Regions from separate parts of the Homo sapiens genome. Here regions 1, 2 and 4 are each linked to region 3. The links are contacts of gene promoters, found by promoter capture Hi-C in blood cells and fetal thymus (Javierre and others, 2016). All regions are on one chromosome and are shown on one strand. Each heading gives the region's core, a stretch centred on a gene start or on the middle of the fragment in contact. The rest is flanking DNA. Distances are from core to core; before and after follow the strand shown.

What was found. Contacts are between HindIII fragments. The CHiCAGO score rates a contact against its expected background, and 5 or more counts as called.
Region 1: a contact is called between a fragment that was not itself captured here and the fragment with the promoter of ABCB5 in region 3, in 1 of 17 cell types (monocytes). The highest score is 5.6, in monocytes.
Region 2: a contact is called between a fragment that was not itself captured here and the fragment with the promoter of ABCB5 in region 3, in 4 of 17 cell types (M2 macrophages, M1 macrophages, total B cells and 1 more). The highest score is 8.7, in M2 macrophages.
Region 4: a contact is called between a fragment that was not itself captured here and the fragment with the promoter of ABCB5 in region 3, in 3 of 17 cell types (M0 macrophages, M1 macrophages and megakaryocytes). The highest score is 6.1, in M0 macrophages.

Annotation. Positions count from the first base shown.
Region 1 is chr7:20,146,447-20,152,992 of GRCh38, reverse strand. All of the region lies in intron 6 of MACC1 (MET transcriptional regulator MACC1), which reads left to right. It overlaps MACC1-AS1 (MACC1 antisense RNA 1), which reads right to left. Exons shown (of 4, transcript NR_046756.1): 2 at 5,456-5,566; 3 at 2,404-2,558. Among named protein-coding and RNA genes, the nearest start is that of MACC1-AS1, 7.8 kb to the right of the region's middle. The HindIII fragment of the contact is 944 bases long and covers 4,509-5,452 here.
Region 2 is chr7:20,309,382-20,316,115 of GRCh38, reverse strand. LOC101927769 (a long non-coding RNA gene) reads right to left here. Exons shown (of 5, transcript NR_110117.1): 5 at 4,404-5,081. Among named protein-coding and RNA genes, the nearest start is that of ITGB8, 18 kb to the left of the region's middle. The HindIII fragment of the contact is 253 bases long and covers 2,648-2,900 here.
Region 3 is chr7:20,611,870-20,618,978 of GRCh38, reverse strand. It overlaps ABCB5 (ATP binding cassette subfamily B member 5), which reads right to left and starts at 3,312. Exons shown (of 28, transcript NM_001163941.2): 1 at 3,142-3,312. The HindIII fragment of the contact is 15,833 bases long and covers 3,240-7,109 here.
Region 4 is chr7:20,164,808-20,171,598 of GRCh38, reverse strand. MACC1 (MET transcriptional regulator MACC1) reads left to right here. Exons shown (of 7, transcript NM_182762.4): 2 at 821-885. Among named protein-coding and RNA genes, the nearest start is that of MACC1-AS1, 26 kb to the right of the region's middle. The HindIII fragment of the contact is 1,821 bases long and covers 1,318-3,138 here.

The DNA.
Region 1 (6,546 bases), core at 3,731-6,230, 470 kb after region 3:
CAGAATGAGATGAAAGATAGGAAGCCTTTAAGAAGGAAAAACAAATATTATGAGGGATACGCTCTTCTGATTCGGACATTTCAGTTAACTGATGAAAAAGTTGTCTAATTGAAAGCAGGACCTTTTTTTCTTAATAAGGTTCTGTTTTGAAAGAGTTTTGTTGAGAGTTATTTATCAGAGTTATTTATTCTGTCAGCCTCCTTAAGCATCTGGCTTCTCTCTAATTGTGGTTGTTTATAGTTTGTCTTCCCCTAAATCTTGATGGAGGCCAGCAAACCACCCACTTTTCCATTATTTACTTTTGCACAGCCCAAATCATAAATGACTAAGTCTTTGCCTGAGGCTGATAAACACTCAGAAGCAGAAAGGAAAGCCCCTAGGTGTCTTTCTATGATAGTTCAACTTATTGTGATTAATAGTAATAGTCATCACTCAGATTCATGTTATTAAATACTTAGAAAAATCCACAGTATATTGGCCTGAGGTCATTCCAAATAATATACAGAAATCTTACGTACGAGGTCACTTAACTAATGGGTAAATATATGCTAATTTCCAACCTCCTAAAAAATAGCTGTATAATTTTTCTCTTTGGGAGGAGATTCCTAAATATGATCAATTTACAATTCAAGTAGTTGATTTCAAAGCACACTGATATTAGTTCTGGGTAGGGGGTGCAGAGGGAGGGAAGTGCACTGGGGCAGGGAGATAATTAGGTCTAGCAGTTGCTGGGCCGCTTTTTTTCCTGTATGTCATTTCCTCAGAGGGCACACACTCCAAAAACTGCCTTCTATGTGTGCCAATGCCTGCAGTTGAGCTGTTTCGCTTACTTTCTCTCCTTTAACTTCTTTCTCTTCCCTTTGTTCTATTTTTATTGTATCTTAGGGAGAGTTATCTGGCACTGACTCCGTGACAGACACTGTTCTGGAAATATTACAAAAATTAATTAATGTAATCCTTTCAATAAAAACTCATGGGGCAGACACTAATATCTAAGATATGGAGAGGATAAGTAACTTGCTTAAACATACACAGCTGGAAAGTCCTGGAACCATGTTTAGAGCACAGACATTTGACTTCAGAGTCCATGACTTTAACCATTACACTCTGTCCATCACTGTTTAATATGGTGACTATGTTGCAGAGTCAGAAGGTGCGGCCAGGGTTAAGCAACTTGTTTCATTTTTTATTTGTCCTCTTTTCAGGCCATGTCAAGTAGCCATGATACTATCAAAAATTGCCTCAAAATTAAATCTTTACCAAGCCTCAAGCTGGTTAAAAAATGAAGTATATTAATAATAAATTTGTCAGATTTTCTGAACACCTTAACCATTTCTTAATTTTTTCTAAGGTGAAGAAAAAGCCTCTCTTTGGAAACTTTTGAGAATGTCACTTTTGAAATTAACCATCTCCTCAAGTTAAATTTTAAGAAATGTTACTCGACTTTTCTAATGACATGGTAATTACTACATAAAAGCAAAGCTGTAAAGCTTGGAATCTGATAATAAGCAAAGTATGTTTTTCAGAGTATTTCTTTCAGAAAAAATGCACTTACACTATACAAAGATGTCACTATTGCCAAGGTTCTTCCGTGAAAGTTAGTGAAAATTTATTGGCATTTTCTGAATATATTTAGAGTTTTAATTTTTTAAAAAAGGAATCAATAGCATATTAGAAAAATAGCTCACTTTTTAAATGTTGAATTTTACAAGGGGACATGCTGGGGATTCAGAGATAAGAAATTCACTGGCCTAAATTGGGTGCTCTTCACTTAGCCTTCTAGGGATGGTTACCACAAATGACAATACTTTTTCTATGGCTCCCTCATTGGCCCCCTTGCTTAACAATATAGATTATGCCATTTTTATCTTGTTTAATAAGGACACATATTCACCAAGGACACTAAAGTTTCACTTCCTTTCTTTTTTTTTTTTTTTTCTCCTTTGAGACAGTGTCTGGCTCTGTCACCCAGGCTGGAGTGCAATGGCACAATCTCAGCTCTCTGTAACCTCCACCTCCCAGGTTCAAGAGATTCTCCTGCCTCAGCCTCCCAAGTAGCTGGGATTACAGGCGCATGCCACCATACCTGCCTGATTTTTGTATTTTTAGTAGAGATGGGTGTTTCACCATGTTGGCCAGGCTGGTCTCGAACTCCTGACCTCAGGTGATCCACTCACCTCGGCCTCCCAAATTGCTGGCATTACAGGTGTGAGCCACCACTCTGGCCTCACTTCCTTTCTTCAATTACCTTTGCCCACTGGGCTCTACCTCAGCCACAGGCACCAATAGTCCTGTTGATAATAGTTTCTTATCTGACCTGCCAGAATGGGCCACTCTCCCAATGGAAGCCAGCGAAGTCAATGTTCCTAATGGTAATTTTTTTTCGTCTCGGAAATTACTCACCTGTAGAGATTCATAATTGGGAAGATGTATTTTAAGTCTATTTGTAGTCACCATTTAATCAATGCAGATCTAATACTCCTTTGTATCTTCTATTCACAACCTGTTCCTCATTTTCTGACTGGCCGCTGGAGAGTTCAAAGTACTTTGTTCCAAGTCTAGATTAAAGATAAGAAAGTTGTTGATTTTCAAGAAGTTTTAGTCATTTTCTATAAGTGAATGAATTCCACATGGAATTCTTTCCACTTATTTAGTATCTTATATCTGTGTCCTAGCCTTCAGTATTTAATTCATCCATATACTTAACGCTTATTCTGGGTCTATCAGTTCTGGACATTGGTTTAGGAGCCGTAAAAAACACACAATATGATTATTTTTTCCTTAAAAACCAGGTTTTACTTTGGCCTGGGAATTGGGATAAACTGTTAATATTTGAATTGTTATAATATTTCTTAAAAGTATAGGACTAGATGACAATGTTAATAGTTGTAACTTACCAAATGTTCATTGTCAGCTAGTCATTATGAGCATTTTCTTTACAGTATCTCTATTATTTCAATATACTTTGTAAGGAAAACATTATAGCCATCTGCTCTTTACATATATACAAACTGAAGGTGAATGTATTTGTGTAATTTATCCAGTTACATGGCTATTAAGGGCAAGTACTTAGATCTGAATTCACGTTGTCTTATATAAAGTCCTAACCACTGTATTATACTAATGATAAGCCCTTTCAAATTTAACTTACTTAAAAAATATCAAAGTGGTGAGGAGTAATTAGGAGACATGCTAGCTTTGAAGGATGGGTGGCCTTTGAGTAATTGGAGAGGAATAGAAGTAGACTTCAGTGCTTCTAAATATCAGTGAGCTCTAGGGACCACTGAGAAGATGTGGCCTGGAGGGGAGAGTTCACCTTACTAATTACTGGGTGATGTGGTCAGGTACATATGTTGGTATCAATGGAGGGGAGTCTTCAGTGACTACCAGAGCATAGAGGTTAAGATTCTTGGCTGGACTTCTGTTCCACCTCTACCATCTATCAGCCCTCAAGCCTTGGGCAAATTACTTTACTTTTCTGGGAATCTATTTTGTGTGTCTGTGAAGTAAGGAGAATAATACTATCTTACTCACTGGATGTTTAGAAGATCAAATGAGATAATAAATGTGTAATATTTGGGACAATGTTTTGCATATTGTAATCACTAAATACATATTATTTATTATTTTAATGAAGAGGAAGAGGAAAAGGTGAATTTGATAACTATATAACTTTGAGTAATTTTTGGAAAATAGAATAAAATACACTGTTTTTTTAGTAATGTGACTGAGAGTGCCTATAGGAAGAATGTAAGGAAAAAGTTAGCAGTTATTTCAAGGTTTCTCATCTGAGAAACTGGCAGAATAGCAATGCATGGAAAAAAATGAGATAAAGTCTTGGCTGATCAGCTTATTTCTTATGGGCTTAACAACATTTAATTTTCCTTGGAAATTATCTCTCGCAAAAGTTAAAAGAAATGTCCTTGGGCTGTATGGTTTTCTGGCTTACATGGCAACTTCTGGATTCTGCTTACAGGGATGTTGAATTATCAAGGTCTGTATCAGGGCCTGGTTCAGTTCTAGCCTTGGTACTTAATTCTTTTGTTTGCTGTTCTTTTGAAATGAGAAATATATTTATAATTTCTTAGAGAAGGGAAAAGTATTATATGGAAATTCACATACCAGTTGTAAAATGTATAGAATGATATCTCAAATCTCCATTGTTTGAACTAGAGATTTGGCACAGTGATGTTATTTAGATTACCATTGTCTACTTTGTACAATTTAGATTACCATGTCTACTTTGTACAATTCTATACTTGTTACAAACTTTAATTTCAAAAAGATACTCCATTTTGGGAGGAATGAGGTAGGAAAGAAAACAAAGATAGCACAGTGAAATTTCTGGGGTAACACATTGTATTCCTATGATCTTTGACTTAATTCTATATTATACACTGAAAATCAAATAGAAATAACATGCATATTAAGTTAAACATTATTAAGAAAATTCAAAATGGATTTAAAGACACTATTTAATTTTGACTTTAGGTTTTCTTTTTCAAGCTTTAGTACTAGGGAACATAAACAATAAGGAATTTCAGAAAACCAAAATCCAGCTATGTGTAAGACCAAAATCAGCATTTGTTAGAACTGCTTAATAATGAAATAAAGTTGTGGCAATACTTTAGTAAAATGGCCCTAGATTTATAGCAAGGTTACCTGGGTTCTTTTCCTGGATAGTTGACTGTGATTTTGTTTCTTAACTTTAAACTCAACTATAATTAGCATTAATTGAGCACTTGGTGTGTGCCAAAAACATTTACATCCATTCCTTTGTATACTTAGCAATTCTTTTATAGCATTGGGTACACCTTTTTTCTCATTTGCCAGAAGGGGAAAGCAAGGGCCTAAAGAAAGGTGATAGCTTACCTAAGATCCTGGAGCTACTAAACCAAGAGTCTAGATTTAAACCAAGATGTGTGCCGCTAAATCCAGAGCTCTTGACACTGTATTTTTTCATTTGTTTTAATGTTTACATTGAAAAATTAAATTGAAGGAGCCCAATTTCTTTAAACATTGGTGTCAGTTGTCTCCATGAATATATGTTTTTGGCAGGGGCATGGGTGGCAGTGATGATGAGGAGGCAATGAGGAATCCTCCCAACTAGGAATTGGTAAGATGGCTTAACCAGCAGGTTTTCCTATAATGTTAGACTATTTAAGCAGATGCACTAGCAAGGAATAGGTCCTCTGTCTTCCTCTGGCTCATGCTTAACCCCTGAAGTTCCAAGTGGTTATTCTCACCCAAATTTAGCTGGTTGTCCTCAAATAGACTTTTTCAATGGAATCTTGTGTCAAGTTTTAACCAAGCAGCATCTCCCTCGTGAGGACATAGGGGCCCCCAGATATGTTAGCCTCCCTTCTCTTCTGAAGACAACAGCAATCTTACCTTCAACAATATTTATGTACTTACTAATTATAGGTAATGTTAAATGTTAAGTGTTAAAGCTTACCTGAATATTGTAAATGATGTACTGAGGATAGAACACATGAAATAATCATTAAGAAGGCAACCTTGCCTTAATACTTCTTCAGCTAATGGTACTGAAAATGAAGTGTTGTTCCTGTAAGTTTATAGGAGAAGTAAGTGGATTACTAATCCTTTAATGTGACAAAATGTAATTATCCAAAAGTAGTTAAAACCAATTGCATTCTTTATGCTATTCATATTTTATAAGCTAAAAAAAGACATACAGTGCTATGCTGAAATCTGAATTTCTTCTACTCATGTGGCATTTCATTTTCTAGTGCATTTTCTAATGAGTCTTATTGGCTTCTGGGAATGAGCACTCTAAATTTGGAAAACTATGTATGTTTTGCCTTTATTCCTATTTCATTTCTTTTGGCATCCCACTTATTACTTTTTATTGCTCCATTACTTTTTATTTTGTCCTATAACACTGAAAAGATAACCTAAGACACACTTCTTCCACACAAAAGCTTGAACTTTGGAAAACTGCTCAACTTTGTATGTTAAATACTTACTCACGCTGCTGCCCTTTTTTATAAAAAGAAAAGCACATAGATGAAAATTAACAACTTTGTGCTTTTATCAGCCTCACGCTTCCTATTCAAGAATGAAACTGCAACATCATGAAGTTACCATTAAAAATCTAAGAATAGAGGCATAAGAATGCAGCCTATGTATTAAATATTTGTGATAGAAATGAGAAGGCTGAGATAATTTTTGTGGTTAAGAATAATTTAACAACTAAAAAACAAGCCCTCCTGAGAGGGCTTTCCTTTAGATTTTTCAAAACACAAGTGTAGAGTTTCTGCATATCTTTTCTAATCATAACATTGAGCAAGAGAGGAACAACTATTTTTAAAACACAGAATAGATACAAGACAACATAAATCTGGAAGAGATCTTGGCTGTCTGCAACTCCTTTCTAGCCTTCGGAGGATTAAATGTTAGTCAGTCCGGAAAGAAAATTATTTATTCTACGCATTTTATTCCTTCAAACATTTCCAGAAAAGATGACTTCATTTTCTTTGTAATTTATTAAAAAATTTAGAATTTTTTGTGACCTTACTGGGTAGA
Region 2 (6,734 bases), core at 1,525-4,024, 300 kb after region 3:
TGAACACCACACGCTTACTTGTTTTAGTCCATTTAGTCTGCTATAACAAAAATCCTTAGCCTGGATACTTTATAAACAACGGGAATTTATTTCCCATAGTTCTGAAGCCTGAAAAATGCAAGATGAACATGTCAGCTGATTCAAAGTCTGATGACAGCCTGCTTCTCAGAGATGGTGCCCTTTCACTCTGTCCTTGCATGATGGAAGGGGAAAAAAAGTTTCCTTCAAGCCTCTTTTAAAAGAGCACTAATCCCATTCGTGGGAGGCCTCATAACCTAATCTCATCCTAAAGGCCCCACCTCTTAATATCATCACATTGTGGATTAGATTTCAACATATGAATTCTGGAGGGACACAAACATCTAGGCTGTAGCAGTAGTGTAGGTTGAAAATCCTGATATTCTAACCTCCCCTTCCCCCAGCACACACTATTTCTTTAATTCCTGGTTGAGAACCTTCAACCTTCATGATGATGAAGACATTCGTGAAAACCGAGTACCTCATTGCTGGGGACCAGAGCTAGGTCAGAGTCTCTCAACCTTGGCCCCCATTTAGGCTTTGATGGTTCTTTGTTGCAGGGGAGGGGTCGTGCTGTGGACGGTGGGATGTTTAGCCACACCTCTAGCTTCTAACCATTTAGATACCAGTTGTACCCTTCCCCCCAGTTGTGACAACCATTAAATGTCTCCAGACATTGCCAAATGTTCTGTGGGAAGCAAAATCTCTCCTGATTGAGAACTGCAGACTTAGCCAATTAACTAAAGCAGGACCCAGTAAGTCAGTCTGGGCTGGGGGTGGATCTGGCTGGATAGAATATGAAATCCTTAAATGCAAACTGGAATGCATGAAGGTTTACGTGGGGCTTTACATTTTATCTGAAGAAGATGTGGAAGCATTTGGAATTTGTTCTGTTATTTATTGCTATGTAACGAACCACTTTAAAATTTAGTGGCTTAGAACAGTGACAACATAAATTGTATTCACAAATCTGAAATTTGGCCAGGGTTGGGTGAAAGAGCTTGTCTTTTGTCTACTGGGGTGGCCCAAAAGCTGGGGGCTAGAATTATCTAAAGTCTCACTAACATAGTGGTTAAAGGCTGGCTGTCAATGGAGATTTCAACTGGATCTATGACTGAAAGACCTACATGTGGCCTTTTCATGTGGCTGCTTGGCTTTCTCACAGCATAGTGGCTGGTTTCCTAGGGCCAGCATCCCAAGGGAGCCAGGAGGAAGCTGTATTGCATTTTATGAATTGGCCTTAGAAGTCACATAGTGTCACTTCTACTGTAGTCAAAAGTTCACCCGGGTCCAAGAAGAGGTAACGTAAATCCCATCATTTGGTGGAGACATGTCAATGTCACCTTATAGGAAGAGCATATAGGATGGTATGTACTGGTGCTGTCATCTTTGGAAAATACAATCTACCACAAAGTTGAAAAAGCAGATCACACAATTGCTTACCTAGGGTCTACAACAGTGCTATCCAGGATTGCTCAAAGGAACACCTGTGTCAATCAGCTGGGGTATATTCATTTGAAATGCCAATTTCTGGACCTTTCTTTCAAGGATTTTCATTTGGCAAGTCAGCCGTGGACATCTGGTGTTTGGTTTTTCAACAAGCCCTCAAAATAATTTTTATTCATCTTCAGAATGTTTTTTCTTTATACTGATGCTTTAATCATTTACACATTTTCAGTACACATTTCCACATTTTCTTCCAGGAAACAAGGCGATGATACAGAGATAGCTTTGAGTAATGCAGCTGTTTTGAAGAGCTACTTCAAATATTGCCTTTGGATTTGTAAAATGCACATATTACTTGTCAAAAGACACTTTGAAAGTAGTGTTGCTGATTGGGTTTCTGTGGACATTTGATCTGTTTTTGTTTCCATGCCATGTCAAAATGAAAAAAGAAAAGAGATAATATTATAGTCTGAGTCAAGAAATTTGAAATTATTTCTTGGGTCAAATTTTATATGCTTTTATGAGACACATAAATTCTACTTTTTGGGTCAAATTTTACCATAAAATGCTTTTATGTTACATTTGAAAACTATACTTTAGGCATCAAATGAAAAGTCAACATTTATAATTATGTAGTTGAAGTTGTATCACAAGGAAGGATTCTTTATAGAAACTTAAAAATGATAATGTATATATTAATGTGGATTCAGTTTTCAAGGGGCATTATGAAACTGTAGGAAATAACATGCTAATGTAGGGAGATTTCCTTGACTTACATGTTGCTGATTAAGCAGCTTCAATGGCCTAAACTATACTTGAGAAAGCAGAGTGTAAAAAGGCCTCTGTGCAATCCAAATAGAATGCAAAAATTCATACCCTTTACTTAGAGTCTTTTTCTATAAACTTACATGAATTTCTGATAGCAGGGTTCCCAGCTTACAGCCAAGGTAAAGCAGTGTGTTAGAATGAGTCAGAAGTTGATAACGACAGTCAGGCACCATAAGGACTATGGGAAACTGAGGCAACAAAATAAAAATGTAATGATTTCACAGCAAGGTAGTTTTCAGTTTTTCAGAGTAGGGGAAACTCATTTTTGCCTCTCACTATTTTTAGCCATACTACATACTACAGAGGTATGTTTCATATACGTTTCTTCACAATATGTTTGAGTTTTTGAGAAGCTTAACTATTTTGAATATATTCTGTTTGAAAGATCAAGGAAATATTGAACAATTTTAGAAAATAATTATTTCAAAGTGGTTAAAGTAAAATAAGCTCTTTTGCTTTTAATAGATACACTTCCATTATTTATAAAATTAGTTTTGTGGACTATTTCATTTGCAGAAGATACTATATAATAAGTGTTTCTCGATGTACAAATTGGTCATTCTATTAAGATATTTTCTTTAAAACTTAAAAAAACTGAATTAAAAGCTTGGGTGTGATTTAAAATCTTATTTGGAAAACTATGTCAGCTTTTCAAAGTTATGTCAGCAGATGCTAACAAGCTGGGAAGGAACAGCAGAACCACAGGGTCATCTGATCCACCAAGGCCTCACTCCAAAATGCATCACAAATGTGATCACTTGTTTTTGCCTCCACTGCTACCACCTTGTCCATGTCACCATCACCATCATCTCTCCCATCTGTATTTCTGTGATAGACTTCTATCTCCCTTTTCTCTTGGCTGCCTCTAATTCCTTCTTCATGCAGCCAACAGATCAATTTACTTCCTTTTTTAACCTGCTATCATGGCTTTCCATTCTCTTTCAAATAAAACCCCAAATCCTTACCATAGCTTTCAAGGCCTTGCATGATTTGGTTTCTGCTTACTTCTCTAATCCCATCCATGACACTCCCCTTGGCTCACTCTGCTTTAGTTCCCTTGGCCCTCTGTTAGTATTTGTCCTTTGCGTACACAATTTCCTCCACCTCTTCCTCTCTATTCTTGGCAGAGCCGGCTGTTTATTCTTCAGGTCCCAGTTTAAAAACTGTCTCCTAGGAGAGGCCTTTCTTGACTTACCTACCTATTGTTGGTCTGTGTCTCCCCAGAATTATTCCCTATAATGGTATGGTATTCAGTTCCTTTGTAGCCAGTATCTTTATATGTTTTACCTATTTTTTTGTTCATTTTCTGTTGCCTTCACAAGATCGATGAAGGGAAAGACCAGTCTGCTTTACTGAACACTGATAATGATGGGTGCCTGGCACATAGTAGGTGCCTAGTAAATATTTTTTGAATTAATAAAATCATGAATGGCGTTCTATAGATAAATCAAGGATAAGTACATGGACTATATATTGGAAAGTGCATGTGCTAATGCAACTTGTCTATATGTTTAACAAGAATTTGAGTGATTCATAGATGCTCTATCCATATGAGCTTTGAAATGAGAAGTTTGTAGAGTTCATAACTAATTTTCCCTATGATATCATAAATCCATTCTCCAAGGTTGACTTTGTCAGAGTCCAAGTAAGGCGTTGAAGATATTTAGCTTGATTCAATCAAGTGCTTTTTAGGAGGAGAATAAAGGGAGTGATAATAAGATACGGAGCAAGAATCATTAATTATAGTATCTCATTTACTCTCAAGCGTAATGAAGAAGTTATATCTGTTAATGTTCTTGATGGAATTTGAGGAGTTTTCTATTACATTACACTCAACAGTGGTTCAGTAAATGTGAGTTTAGTTAAATTTCTTTCATTACGGGCCTTAGGTGTGGGGGGTGATACATAATAAGAACACACTATTTCTTAAACGCATAAAAATTTTCTGACCATTTAAAAGAACCTTGTTTAAACTGGTTTTCTTTGTGTGTGTTGTGTTGAATGAATTGAAAAGTAGATATAATTATATATGCTGTTAATTTAACTACATAAAGGTGAAAAAACAAACTTGAAAAAGTCTTTTTACCCTGTACTTATGCAGAAACATGTGATGACAAGACAACAATTTTATTATAAAAGGAATGCATAGTAGGTCTCATGTAAAATAAAACAAGAAATAAACCTTTAGGTGGCGGCCAAGAGCTATCATTATGAATTCCTTAGCCTGTTTTTATGAGAATTTATGCTCTTGTTTGAAAGTTGTCATGTAAAATGGGCTATTTAAACCACAATAATTCAGTGCAAAGCAAACATAAGGACAAAATTAGGCCTAAGAAGGAACTAGATTTGAATGTTAATATCATCAAATAATTAATCAAATTTTAATTTTGATTTGATTTGACAGTTGGTGTCTTGATTATGATTAGTAGTTAGAGACCCAGTTCTGGGAAGATAATGGTATTGATATGGAGTTACAGGATTAATTATTCTTAGCACTTAAGTAATTGTTTTAATCTTCACATAAATCATCTTTAAACAAAATGGTAGCTTTTTAAGAACTCAAAGAGTGTTATAAAGATGTCAAAACTGTCCAGATGCTTATTGTACAATTGAAAGCTCCATTCAAAGTTGACACAGGCCCCAGAAGAAAGGTCAGTTATCTAACTCACTTTTGCAACATCTGGCAGAAACTATGACTTGTTGGAGTACCAGTGTGTTCTTCTTCTCCTTTTTTACTGCTCTCCGAAATGAAAGTTTATGATTGTATCTGCCATGTGCCCCTTTCAGTTCTAGAAAAAAAGAAAAGGATAAAATGTTTTTTAAAAGGCATTATGATTTTGTGATGACATGCACTCGTTTCAACTCCTTGTTTGTTCTTTTAATCAGTATGCATTAATCTACTCAAAAAGTTTTAGACATCACTATTAGATATTGTTTTAGAGTAATATTTATGTAAAAATTTTCTCATTAACCATTAATTCTGTTTGCATTTAGATTCATGATACACTTTTTGATAAGGCTTTTTGGCAATATAGACTACATTTGGTAGTTGCTTCTAATTAGTCAGGACTTTTTGATGAAGTGTTTCTAGCTCAATTCTTGTCACCTTAAGTAGTACACATTTAGCAATGGCTGTATACACACCCAGCATCATAGAGAAGCGAAAACAAAGTAAACGACAACCTCAGTACACAAGGAGTTGACAATCTCTCTAGATGCAGCAAGAGAACAGGAACAAATTAAAATAATTCATTAAAAACCACACATTGGTGTTGAGTAATAAAAAAGAAGAAAAGAGAAAGTGTGGGTTGATAGTAATAAAGAAAACCTCCATAGAGAAGATGAATAAACTAGTGAAGTTTCCCAATACACTAATGGGAAAGTAAAGATTGTAATTCTTAAGAAACTCTAGTTCCGTTATTTAATGTCAATATTCCAAAATTATACTTTCACAAAATAGATGCCAGAGTAGCATGAAACAGCTCCTTTTCTAAATATTTTCCACTACATTAATCAATGAAGATGGTGACATCCTTTCTCAAAAAAAAGCCTACTTAGCATGTTGCTGGATTACATAGCAAGCTGCCCACAGAATTATCCAGAAATTATTTCTGTCCTCTAGTAATTTACAATACAAAATTGTCTAGGAAGAAAATTAAGCTAAAAACTTAGAAGGTTGTATCTACGGAATTATGTGATAGAAATGTAATATTTTCTATGTCGCCTTGAATGGTTTTAAAGCGATATTCCCAAGGCCAGGGATCAGGAGAGCCATCTCTAATCTTGACTCTTAGGGTATATATATGGTGATAAAATTGTGGTAAGGAGTCATGATTTCTGTGGGGGCATTTTCCTTCTCTATGAAACCAAAGAGGAGAACCAGAAGATCTCTAAGTGTCCCCTCAACCCTAAAATGTTACATTTTATACATTTACAGAGTAAAGCAATACTTCATTCGACATTATCAAAGCAGAAATTTTTTTTCCATCTGATGAGCAAACTCATGGCATAGTTTCAGTGGGAATTGCAAAATGAATCCCACTATATATGAAGCCCCACACATAGGTTGAGAAGGGCTCCCTGGCAGTGCTCAACCTACATGATTGTGTGTGTTGGCTCTATAATCATAGCAATAAAAAAAAGAAGACACAGATAGTTTCTCTCAACTAAAATTTTGTATAATAGTGGTTAGTTTTTAAGTCAACTACACAGTCCCCCAGAAAACCTGGAGTCTTTAATCAAGGTAAAAACTTTTAAATGCAAAATCAGTAACCTAAGAAAAACTCAAAGAACTGATTTTCTTGTAGGTAAAATTTACCAAATCTGTTAAGTGCTATGAAACCAGTATATATTATGGTGTGTCAGTGTTGTTTTCATAAACTTACAAGACCTAAAACTTACAAACAATTCTAAAATAGTAGGTGAGTGTGTCTTCTTAGTAC
Region 3 (7,109 bases), core at 2,063-4,562:
ACATGGTGAAACCCCGTCTCCACTAAAGGTACAAAAATTAGCCTGCCATGGTGGTACATGCCTGTAGTCTCAGCTACTTGGGTGGCTGAGGCAGGAGAATCTCTTGAACCCGGGAGGTGGAGGTTGCAGTGAGCTGAGATCGTGCCACTGCACTCCAGCCTGGGTGACAGAACAAGATTCCATCTCAAAAAAAAAAAAAAAAAAAAAAAAAAAAGAAAATGCAGCACATATATGCCATGAAATCTTTTGTAGCAACATAAATGCAGCTGGAGGCTATTATCTTAAGTGAATTAACATGGAAACAGAAAACCAAATGTTGTATGTTTTCACTGATAAATGGGAGCTGAACATTGGGTCCACATGGACATAAAGATGAGAAAAATAGCCACTGGAGACTATCAGAGGTGGGAGAGAGGAAGGGGAGAAGGTGCTGAAAAACTACCTACCGAGTACTATGCTCACTACCTGGGCGAAGGGATTATTCACACCTCAATCCTCAGTGTCACACAATGAACTCATGTAACAAACCTGCCTGCACAGGTAAGCTCTAAATCTAAAATAAAAGTTGAAATTATATAAAAGGTGAAGATAGCCATATAAATGAAATACTGATACATGCTACATAAATAAACCTTGAAAGTATTATGGTAAGTACAATAACCCAATCACGAAAGACAACATACTATATAATTCCATTAATATGAAGTGCCTAGAGCAGGCAAATCCATAGAGAAAAAAGTAAGTTAGTAGTTGCTGGGTGGAGGAGAAATAGAGATGACAGCTAATGAGAGGGATACAGGGTTTCTTTTCAAGATGATAAAACCACTATAAATTGAATGTGGTGATGGCTGCTCAACTCTATGAATATACAAAAACTTTTGAATTGTACATCTTAAATGGGTACATTCTATGATATGTGAATTATATCTCAATAAAGCTGTTAGCAAAAAAGGGTAATCTTAAAGTTTCTAACCATTATTACAGAAGTTTTTATTTCTCTCTGCTTCTGTCAGTGTTTATTTAGGAGCTGTGATATTTTGTGGCTGTGTGCTTATAGTTGTTATATCTTCTTGGTGATTTGACTGTTTTATCACTATCTAATGTTCTTTGTTGTCTCTTATAAAAGGTTTTGACTTGAGGTGTAACTTGTCTGGATATTACTATAACCATTCCAGCTCTCTTTTGGTTAATATTTGCAGGATTATCTCTTTTTATCCTTTTGATTTTAACCTATTTGCCTTTAGATCTAAAATGATTCTCTTATTGACAGCATACAGTTAGATTATATATTTTTAATCCATTATAAAAATGCGATTTTTGGGTCTCACTCTAAAACTTCTGAATAGAATCTGCATTTTAACAAGATTGTCGAAGTGGTTTGTAATGCATATCAAATTTTGAGAAACATGACTATATAGTATCTAGCACAAAGCCTTGAGAAACAGAAGGCACTACTTATCTAGAGGAAATTTTATCTTCCTAAATCCAAGATTATAAAAATAAAGTTTAAAATACACCTTAGTGCTGACAACATATTGTTTTTATCTGCTGTTAATAGCACAGTTTTAAAGTATTGTCAAAGGACCTCTGGCATCAGAATCACCTGGAGTGCATGTTAAAGATATCAGACACCTACCTAGGCCTTGCCCCACATGTACTGAATGATAATCTAAAGAAATGCACTGGAAAAAAATCTACATTTTAAACAAGCTCATTAGATGATTTTTTAAAAAAATTTACTCATTCTATAGATATATACTGTGCCAGGTACTGTTTTAAGCACTGAACAGCCTAGACATCTTTGCTGTCATAGAGCTTAGACTCCATTACAGGGAGAGTCACAATTTTAAAAAAAGGCATACATAAATAAGGAAAATTAGAGAGTGGTCAGTTTTTGGTATATAATTAAAACAGGGTAATTTTATGAAGAGTAATGTGGTATTTATATACATCTGGTCAGAGAAAGCCCCTTGTAGAAGATAATGTTTAAGCTGCAATCTGAATTATAAAAGGAGGTTGCTATATAAAGATCAAAAAGACTATCCCAGGCAGAAGGAATACTATTTAGATAGTAGAGAAAAGTGCACTGAGACAAAGCGACACAAGGTCAAAGCAATTTGTGAGCCAGTTGGCAGGTCCTCACTGTATGGAAAGCTACAGGTTGACTATGATGGCTGCCCCCATGTTCCTCTCTGTTACCCAATGTTTCAAAAGGAAGATAAATTTAACTTGAAACTTGTCAAGTTTGAGATATTTGTGAGATAATCAGGTAGTAATATCCAGCACTAAGTAGATAACATGAGAGAAGAACTCTGAACATCTTAATTGCTCTACACAAAATCTATCAGTCAGCCAATTCTTACTTATTGACAGCTGTGTGGATGCTATCATGGCAAGTACTATGGAACATACAAGAAAATGTAAAAATAGACAGAATATTTTATTTATAAGGACTTTTGCCTTAAAAAATATTTCTAGGTTCATGTACCAAGATGGAAATCATAGGACAAAATACCCATGTGAGAAGAAATCATGAGATGCACTTAACGTTCAAGCATCCTTGGTAAGAATAATCTGACAAATAGCTAAGATATACTGGTTGGATGGAAAACATGGGATCTTTGGTTAGATGAAAGAAGATATGGCTGGGCGCAGTGGCTCATGCCTGTAATCCCAGCACTTTGGGAGGCCAAGGCGGCTGGATCATCTGAGGTCAGGAGTTCGAGACCAGCCTGTCCAACAAGGTGAAACCCCATCTCTACTAAAAATAAAAAAATTAGCTGGGCATGGTGCTGGGCACCTGCAATCCCAGCTACTCAGAAGGCTGAGCCAGGAAAATCTCTTGAACCCTGGAGGCGGAGGTTGCAGTGAGCCAACATCGTGCCACTGCACTCCAGCCTGGGTGACAGAGTGAGACCCTGTCACAGGGAAAGAAAGAAAGAAGATATGAATTGTATGGATGCTTTAAAATGACCAAAATAATAGTAGGATGATCATTTCTGACTATGAAAAAGTTTCATACACACACATTTTTGTTTCCATCTTTACCACAAACTATTCTTTCTAAGATGGAGAAGTGTTTTATATTCTTCACAAGCTTCAATTGTTTTCATAATCTCTAATACTTTTGCTTTGACTTACTTTAATTCCTTAGATGCTGTTTTGAGTGGGCCCCATCCAGTCAGTTGAAGTCCTTAAGAGAAAAGACTGAAGTCTTCTGAAGAGGATAGGATAAAGCTTTCAGATACAAGGTATCAATTTTTTGCCAGAATTTCCAGCCTTCTAGTCTGGCTTGTGGATTTTGGAAGTGCCAGTCACCACAATTACATGAGCGTGTTTTCTCTTTCTCTCTCTACATACACACACACACACACACACACACACACACACACACACGGCCTATTGATTCTATTTCTCTAGGGGAACCTAATATACCTGGCAAGACAGACGTTATGTGATGAATAGTACAAAGAGTGACTATTCTAGTATCTAAGAAGACTGAGGAAGAACATTGTGATCTAAAATGGTTTCGCCCACAGATGAGGATGGCCCTGAGGTTAGTTTCTGGAGGAAGGCTAAGGTTTCAGTAAGTAGAAAAATGTGGAGGAGGAACAAGGGCATAGTTTTAGGAATGCAAGGTGAATTATCTCATGGTAGAGAAATGAGAACGGTTTGGATAGGATGGACTGTTCATGCAGAAATGGAGAGAGAGATAAGGTACATACGATTGTAAAAGGCACTGAACCAATTTTTAGGACAACTTTTATAATTTTCTGGAATGAAAGAGACAAAGCCATTGGTATTTGGTACAATTAACCTGATTATTTGACATTACAGCCATGGATATACTGGAAGGACTTGGGGAAACACAAGATTTAAGTAGACTCATTAAAATCTAGTTTGATAGCAGTAAGTAAGACTATTTGAGAGGTATTTTTAAGGCGGTAGGTAGGTAAAGAGGACAAGGAAGAAGAAATAAAAAAAATATAAGTTCAGCGATCAAACTTTTAAAAGTTGTAACAAAAGAGTAGTAAAGATGGTAATAGAGAAGTTATGAGACAGAATTGGTTTTGGGGAAATGGTAACATTCAGTTTAAATATGCAAATTTGGGTTGATATTGGTGTCCAAGTGAAAATATCTGGCAAACAGATGTAAATGTGGCACTAATAATTAGGAAAATTGCCAACCTAGAGATAAACTTGCAATTGTCATATGCACAGAAGGAATAATTAATTTTGCTTTAAAAATCTCATGATGTCATCTAAATGCACAGAAGTGGTGTAATGTAGCTAAAAGTGTTACTTCTAGAGCAGAGCCATCCAACAGAACTTTCTGCAATAATTGAGATATTCTCCACACATCCAATATCCTAGCCGCTACACATATGTGGCTATTGAGCGCTTTTAATGTGCCTAGTGAGGGAGCTGAATTTTGAGTTTTATATAATTTTAATTAATTTATTTTATTTATTCAGCTTTAATATGTATAATTGACAAATACTATTGTCTATATTTAAGGTTTACAACATGATGATGTGATATACATATACATTGTGAAATGATTACTGCAATGAGCACATCCATCACTTCACATATTTACGTGTTTGTGTGTGTGCGTGTCTGGTGAGAACGCTTAAGATCTACTCTCTTAGCAAATTTCAAATATACAATACAGAATTATTAACTGTAGTCACCATCCTGTACCCATCTTATAACTGGAAGTTTGTACCCTTTGACCAACATCTCCCCATTTCCTCCACCTCCTAGTCTCTGGTAACCACCATGCTACTGTCTGCTTCTAGGAGTTTGACTTTTTTTGGATTTCACACATATCTCTGGCTTATTTCACACAACATAATGTCTTCCAGTTCCATCCACGTTGTCACAAATGACAAAGTTCCCTTCTTTTTTATGACTGAATAATATTGCTTTTCTTTATCGATTCATGTGTCAATGGACACTTTGGTTGTTTCCATATATTGGCTGGTGAGAATAATGCCGCAATGGACAGGGGAGTGCAGATACCTCTTTGAAATACTGATTTCATTTCCTTGGGGTATATACCTAGAAGTGAGATTGCTGGATCAGATGGCAATTCTGTTTTTAATTTTTTTAGGAAACTTGATGCTCTTTTCCATAATGGCAGTACCAATTGACATTCCCACCAAAAGTGCACAAGGTTCCCTTTTTCCATACCCCTGTTACCTCTTATCTTTTTTATAATAGCCATTCTAAAGCTAGAAGGTGATATCCCATTGTGTTTTTTATTTGTATTTCTCTGATGATTACTGATGTTGAGCACCTTTTCATGTACCTGTTGGCTGTTTGTATGTCTTATTTGGGAAAAAATATCTATTTGGGTCTTTGCCTACTTTTAAATGGGGTTATTTGTCTTTTTGTTATTGAGTTGTATGAGTTTCTTATATACTTTGGGTGTTAACGCATTATTCAAAATGTGGTTTGCAAATATTTTCTTCCATTGTGTAGATTGTCTTTTATTTTATTTTCTTGAAATGGAGTCTTGCTCTGTTGCCCAGGCAGAATGTCTCACTCTGTAGGGATGGGGTTTCACCATGTTGGCCAGGATGGTCTCGAGCTCCTGACCTCACGTAATCCGCCTGCCTCAGTCTCCCAAAGTACTGGAATTACAGGTGTGAGCCACCACGACTGGCCCTTTTTCATTTTGTTGCTTGTTTTCTTTGCTGTGCAGAGGTTTTAAGTTTGATGTAGTGCCACTTTTTTGCCTTTGTTGCCTGTGCTTTTGGTGTTATGTTCAAAATATCACTGCCAAGATCAATGTCAGGGAGGTTTTCTCTATGTTTTCTCCTAGGACCTTTATAGTTTTAGGTTTTACATTTAAGTCTTAATTCATTTTGAGTTAGTTTCTGTGAGTGGTGTGAAATTGGGGTCTAATTTCATTATTTTGCATGTGAATATCTGTTTTCTCAAAACCATGTATTGAAGAGATTATCTTTCCTCCACTGTGTATTTCTGGCATCTTGTTAAAGATCAGTTGATCATTTACATGTGGATTTATGTGTAGTTGTAGTTTGTTCATTGTAATTGTTGAATAATATTTCATCTTGTGAATATACCACCATTTAATTTTTCATTCTACTACTGTTGGTGGACATTTGGCTCATTTCTGGGCTTGGAGTATTAGGAAGAGTGCTATTATGAATACTATCATGCATGTTTTTTGGTAAACATATTATCTTTGTTGGATATATACAAAGGTGAAATTGCTAGGTCATAGGATATGTATGTGTTTAACTTTAGCTGAAGGAGCCAAATAGTTTGTCAAAGTGCTTGCACCCTCTGTGTGCTCACCAGCAGTGCATGAGAGGTCCACTTGCTCCATATTCTCAACAATGTTTGGCATAATGATTCTTTTCAATAGTCATTATGGTGGGTGCAGTGGTGTATGGTTTTGCTGTGTCCCCACCCAAATCTCATCTTGAATTGTAATCCCCATGTGTCAACGGAGGGACCTGTAATCCCAACATATCGAGGGAGGGAGGTGATGGGATCATGGGGGAGGTTCCCCCATGCTGTTCTCGTGATAGTGAGTCCTCATGAGAACTGATGGTTTTACAACTGTTTGGAAGTTCCTACTTCATCCTTCTCTCTCTCCTGCCACCCTGTGAGGGTGCCTGCTTCCCCTTCCACCATGATTGTAAGTTTCCTGAGGGTTCCCCAGCCAGGTAGAACTGTAAGTCAATTAAACCTCTTTCCTTTATAAATTACCCAGTCTCAGGTAGCTCTTTATAGCAGTGTGAAAATGTACTAACACAAGTGGTATTTACATTGAGGTTTTGTTGCTTTTCTTTGGTAATTTATAAAGCTAAGCGCTCTTTCATATATTTTTTATTGGCTACTTGGATATCTTTTTGTGCAGTGCCTGTTCAAGTCAGTCTTCTGCTCATTACTATATTGTGCTATTTGAAATTTTCTTATTGATTTGTAGGAGTATTTTAAGTGGACCCTATATGATTTCTTTGTTGGGAATATGAATTGCAAATGTTTTTCCAATTCTGTGGGGTACATTATTTTTCTCTTGATGTTTTTATCTTGATGAATGTATATTCTCCAACAATATAGTGCTATAT
Region 4 (6,791 bases), core at 979-3,478, 450 kb after region 3:
AAAAAAAAAAAACAGATATAATTGTCTCTAAGAAAGAAAATAATCAGCCGGGCGTGGTGGCTCATGCCTGTAATCCCAGCACTTTGGGAGGCCGAGGCAGGCGGATCACAAGGTCAGGAGATCGAGACCATCCTGGCTAACACGGTGAAATTCCGTCTCTACTAAAAATATAAAAAAAAATTAGCTGGGCGTGGTGGCGGGCACGTGTAGTCCCAGCTACTCAGGAGGCTGAGGCAGGAAAATGGTGTGAACCTGGGAGGCGGAGCTTGCAGTGAGCCAAGATAGCGCCACTGCACTCCAGCCTGGGCGACAGAGCAAGACTCCACCTCAAAAAAAAAAAAAAGAAAATAAAATAATCTTCCAGTTTCTAGTAATCAGAAATCAGTGGAGCATTAATAATAACAAAAATACTTTTGTTCAGCTGAATCATATATATGTCTATATCAATATCCATCTTTCTCTATCAGTTGTCTATATTTCTGAATAGATATATGCACACATGTATGCGCATTAGTATTTTTCAAGTCACTGCTTTGACAAAGAGTTCATACTGTTGCACACCGTTCTGTTTACAAAAATAACAAATGGAAACAGTGTGATTCCCTGAAACATTAGAAACTAGATGTAATCAATTGTTGAGAATTTAAGGGAAATTCCTGCTGTATGAATTGGATGGTGTGGTGTAATGAGTCTCTCTTTAATCTTACCCATTCTACCAAATTTTATTCATAAGCTCTTTCTCATAGCAAACGTTAGTGCATAAACATTCTGTTTTCACTTAACAGTGACCAAAGATTCATGTTTATTCTCTTTCAAGTAGGTAGCCTTGTCAGATGATATGCAAATGATTCACATCAGTGTTTGAAGTTCAAACCAAGGAAAACTGTGAGTATACACAAAATGTCAGAGTGTTTTTCTCTTGGCAAAGAATGCTGGGAATCTTACGATTAATTCCATACAGTAACAACTCAGCAAGTGTTGGCTAAAAATACTTGCTTTTACTGCAAAAGTACTAACACAAATCTAATTTTAAACGATACAATAATTTTTACATTTTCCCCTTCAGAGAGGTGAAAAGTATTGTCAAGTTGAATAATCTGTTAAGCTAAAATGACAAACTTTCACAGTGTTTATTCTGTTTCCTCTTTTCCAATATTCTTTACATATCTTTGTCAGTAACCACTCATTACATTGTCTAAGACCAACGGAATTGGCACAGAAGTGAAAAACAGAGAAGAATTATCATTTTAAGCAGCAACTGATGTTCATTGGGGATTTATGTTATTTCAATATTTACAACAATTTTTTAAAAAAGCTTTATTGAGATATATTTCACGTATCATTGTAACCACTTTTTGAAGACAATATTTTACCCTCATTTTGTAGATGAGGAAATGGTGCTCAGACCAGTGAATTCATTTCTAAGCATTGGTCTGAAGTTACGTCTGTCTATTTTCAAAGACTGCGTTCTTTCTATTGCACTCCAGTGCCTCTGCTGTGATGAGTCCAGTCACTCTTTTGGCAGGAATCATGGCACTGGTAAAATTTTCTATGAAGGGTGAAGAATAGGATACAGGGTCCCAAGACACAACTTGTAAGCTATCAGAGATTGGAGTCTCAAGACATCTGATTGAGAGGAGAAGATTCTTGAATGGGCCCAGTTGGCAAAGTTATTTCTATATGCACTGGAATAACCAGGAGGGAGAGACCAGAGGAAAAGCAAGGGGTCCTCTTGTGCCACTTTTTATACAGTATTTCATTTGATCCTTATGAACAGCATGTGGGGTTATTATATGTTGATAGTAATACTAATTATTACCTATTTTAGTTTAGTTCTTTACAGATGATAAGTAGAGTTCCAGAAATGTTCAGTATCTTTCCAAGTTTATACTAGAAGGACTGTAACCAGAGAATTGTAACTCCAAAGCCTATATTCTTTCTACTTTACAAAAATGCATTTACATAAAAGAAAGGAAAGACATTGCTGACTGATGACAACCAGTGAGGTCTCCTGATATACTGTCAAGTGTTCTAGGAAGCAGTGGAGCTTTGCAGAGAAAACAAATACAGAATTTGGCTCAGTTTGCTAGAAAAGACCATGCAAGTGAGGACCCTACAGTTACAGCTTTATTAGCCACACTATAAACCCACGTCTTGTCCACCCCTTCTGAATTGGGGGTTGATCTTTATACCTTTTGAAAAGTACAACCCAGAACACGTTTTTTGCACTGAAGGGTACAGGAAAGAAAAATGACTGCAGGTCCATAACTACACAAAGTCATATCCAACTACTCTTGCAATAATTAAACTTGTCCAATCCCAGGGACAAGATTTGTAGCTAATTTATTTCTCAGAGTTTGCTTGAAACATCTATTGCTTAAAGTTAAACCTGAGAGACATATCACTGGGAATATTTTATGGCAACAGTGGGGATTAGGTAAAAGAAGTCATTAAATGTTTTTCACAATGAAAGTACTACAGCTTTGCTCTGTGGCCTTGAAAGTTGGAAATGTATGCTCTTGTGTGGGAGCAGTAACAAAACTGTTTCTGAGGAAAACTGCAGTCCCTATCATGGCACAGCATGCAGAAGTAGAATGATCTTCTGCTCAGGCTACATTTTAGCTACTCATCTCAATTGTCATCTCAAATTTACTCATCTCAATTTTCACAAGAGAACGTGACTCCTATCTTTAACTTAGTGAATTGTTTGGGTCTTCAAAAGAAAAAGCTGCTCTGGATCTTAGGCCTAGAATGTCTCAGTCAGCTCTGACTTGAAAAGTGGAAAGGGAAACTCTGTTGAGAGGAACCAAGCATAGTGGGCTTTACTGGACTAGGTCCTGTCCTTTTGGGATTGTAACCTGACATGTGTGCTTATCTTAGAATAGGGAGGCAGATAGCTGTCTAGCTGGGCCCACTCTTCTCCACCTGACTTGACAGAATTGCCTTTGGGTGAGATGACATCAACACACATTAAGAAAGAGCTCCATTAAAGAGATTTACTGTTGAACATACTGTAAAAGGTGGGACCGAGGATACTGTCCCCAGTAGTTACATGCTCCTCTTCACCCCTCTTTATTCCAGGTATTGCTGGTGCTGCTGTTAAGTGGCTTCTTTGTGTTCTATGATCACTGTGAAGCTTGTAACTAATCATGTTTACCTTATTTTGGTCACTTTCAGAAAGTGGAGAGCCAAATGTGTGGACTACTGCTAATAGGTATACTGGAATTTACAGCATGATGTTTGTGAAGTTGCTTTTATTTGAAGTTGTCCTACCAACTTCCTGCAAATGTCACCCTTATTTATTCACTTATTTTGTTTTTAAATTTTTTTTTTTTTACTGAAGAATAATATACACTTACTTGTTGTTTAAACTCATTGTGTTATTTGACTATTTGTAAATTTCTCAACATATTTTTAAGCCAAGGAAGTGCATGTGTGTTGTGGGTATGTTCATGCACACACACGTGTAAAATGAACATACTGTAGGGAATTCAAATAAAAAAGACAAATAACTATCAACCTCTCTGCAGCTTGGTTCATCATCTGTAAGATGAGCATTCTTCATCCAAAATAATGCTTTTCTCCTTTCTTCATGGCCCCTTGTAATTTTAGTCATTTCTCTGGGTCTGAAGAGTAAAGGTTGCCAACTCTGTGAACAAGGACCAGCTACATAATTTGCAGCACCAGTGAAAAATGAAAATATGGGACCTCTTGTTCAAAACATATTAGGTATTTCAAGATGGCAGTGGCAGAGCATTACACCAAGCATGGGGCCTATCCAAGAGTGGGGCTCTGTGTTATTGCACAGGTCACATGCCCATGATGCAGGTCCTGCTGTGAACTTGGAGATCTTCCGGGGTCAACACTGTGGCTTGATACTACTCTCCAGCAACAGGGTCAGGGTGTAGTCTCAAATTTCGCTTCCTCTGGAAGAGAAGTTTTAACCTATAGGTAGAAAGTGTTGTGTAGAGTTCAAAAATGTGTTTGCTAGTATCTAGTATCCTTAAGTTCAAAGACTGGTTTGCTACTTAGTAGCTTTATAATCTTGGGCATATAATGTCCCTAAGACTTTATTTCCCTACCTTTAAAATGAGGATAATGGAGGCCAGGCATAGTGGCTCATGCCTGTAATCCTAGCACTTTGGGAGGCCAAGGCAGGCAGATTGCCTGAGCTCAGGAGTTCGAGACCAGCCTGGGCAACATGGTGAAACCCCATCTCTACTAAAATACAAAAAATTAGCTGGGCGTGGTGGCATGCACCTGTAGTCCTGGCTACTCAGGAGGCTGAGGTAGGAGAATTGCTTGAACCCGGGAGGTGGAGGTTGCAGTGAGCTGAGATCACACCACTGCACTCCAGCCTGGGCGACAGAGCAAAATTCCATCTCCATTGAAAAAATAATAATAAATTAAAAAAAAAATAAGGATGATGGTAGAGCCAACTTTCTAGAATTGTTGCAAGTAAACAAGAAAAGCCATGCATGATACCAGAAGTGTGGCAAGCTCCAAATAAATAATGAATAATAGCTCTTATGATTATCTTTTACCTTTTTTATTTTTTACAGGCCCAAGATATTCCTTTTGTGTATCTGTTCAGGGAGTCCTTTATACCTTTTCTTCCAGATCTAGATTTCTGGATATGTTCCTTGACTACATCACTAAGCTGCACTTCAAACAGTTTCTGACCTACTGTTTTTATATCCCTGATTTAGTCTCACTAATATGATGTTATGCTGCACAATTATTATGATTTTCCTGAACTTCAGTTCTGCCAGTGATGGAAGGATAATAAGATAGAAAGAAGTGATAGACATCTTGACCTGGTGATATTAACAAGATGACGTATTGATGAAATGTTTTGAGTTCCCAGGGTTGGAGGTATCATAGAAATTATTATGGATTTCTAATACCGCTTAATGCACTGGGAGGCCTGCTCCCTTCCCTGGAGAATCTTCTGAAACTCTTTGCCTTGGGGAAAAGTAACTGCTGACATTTGCCCTGTCAGGTCTTTTAAATATTTGGTCAGAATCATCAGCTGCAACACTTGAAGTATTTAATAACTGGGAGAAAGTATGCTTGTGTATGGTGTATACTATTAAAAATTACCAATCAGAGAGTGCCACTATTCCATCAGAAGTTGCCCTAGGGTAAGATCCAGTAAGGCCACTCACAGCATGGTAATGTCCAGTAAAATCATACCAGGTGTGTATCATCAGCTGATTATGATTCCTTTGTGGGCCTTTTTAAAAAAATACTGGTTGCATTTACAAGTAATACAATGTTACTTGGGCAGGTTTGGCATTTGGCAGGTGAAGGAAAAGTCTACTAGTCCAACAGTTGCTCTCCTGTCACCTATAAGAGTTATAGCCTACATGGACATGTTTTTATTATCACATAGATCAAGAGTTAAATACAGTACAAATTCATGGAAATCATCGAGGTTTCAGGTATTCAAGCACTAACTGAAAAATACTTTGAACCTACCAGCTGGCTAACACTAGCAATTTTCACAATGTAATTACTATCATAAAAAATTCAAAGGACACATTTTAAAGAAATAATTCTTTTAAGTGTATTGTTTTCTTGGTTACTTATTCCAAACACTGCATTGCTCCCCACCCCTTATCCTCACAAAAAATATCTTCTGACTTTTTTGCTAAGTTGTACATTTGGTAAATGTTTCTAGTTGCTTAGGGCCTAGTTTAAATAGTAAAATAAATAAGGGCAAAACTTTGTTGGTTTCTTAAGGAAAAAAGTAATGGATCATGCAAAATCAGCATAAGTATTTTTAAAAGGCATATTGAAAAACCATGTCCCAAATTAAATGAATACTAGAGTACTCTATTCTCATTTACTCATTCCAACAAAGACTGACTCATGTTTCTCTAGATAAAGTAAAAAAAAAAATCCTGTTTTGGGCGGCAATTGTCATTGAGTATGGGGTTTAATTGGAAGAAAACATAGGGAAATGCTAAATGTGGCTAATGTGATTTGCACCTGTGTAAACAAGCAATGCCATTGTCCAGGCAGATCTTGGTCCTTCCAGTCGAGGATTTTTTTTTTTCCCCTATACCACCTCTCCTTGGATTCATAGAAAAAAATTTAGATTTAGGATGGTACTGTGAGGGATGGAGGGATGTGTTTGTGTAGAGAAAGATTATGAGAGAGAGGATTTGTTGTGGGATAGTGAGAGTGGCTAGGGAAACCATTTGGCTAGGGAAGGAGCTTTTAGAATGGCTTTCAGAATGTGGTTCTCAGCATGTGCCCCTTGGAACCGAACCACAGTATCAGCATCATTTGACAGCTTTGTTAGAAATAAAATTCTTGTGCACAATCCCAGACCTTCTGGATTAGAAACACTGGGGTGGTTCCAAAGGGTTGTTTGATTAAGCCTTCCAAGTGATCCTGGTGCCACTGAGTTTTGGAACAACTACCTTGAAGGACAGTGAAGACCTGCTTGAGTGACTGGAGAATAAGGATAATCCACAAAGAATCTCAGCTAACGACCCTTTGGTGCCTTTGTTTCTGAGAGGTTATGATCCTTCAAGGTCATAGCTGCGTAAGGCATCATTCCTGGTTTTTATGTGGTTGAGGACTTCTACCTACATTCCATTTGGTTATAACTATTTTTCATATCAACGGTTATTTGCCTCAAAGGAATCCTCAGTACATATTGCTCATTTTGCTCTTTCCTCATAAAAAAAAAAAGAGTTTAGGTAGTTTACTAAGTTGATTTTTTAAGAATATATTTTATCTTTTCGAAAATAGTTTTCCATTTAGACATTTGTTCCTCA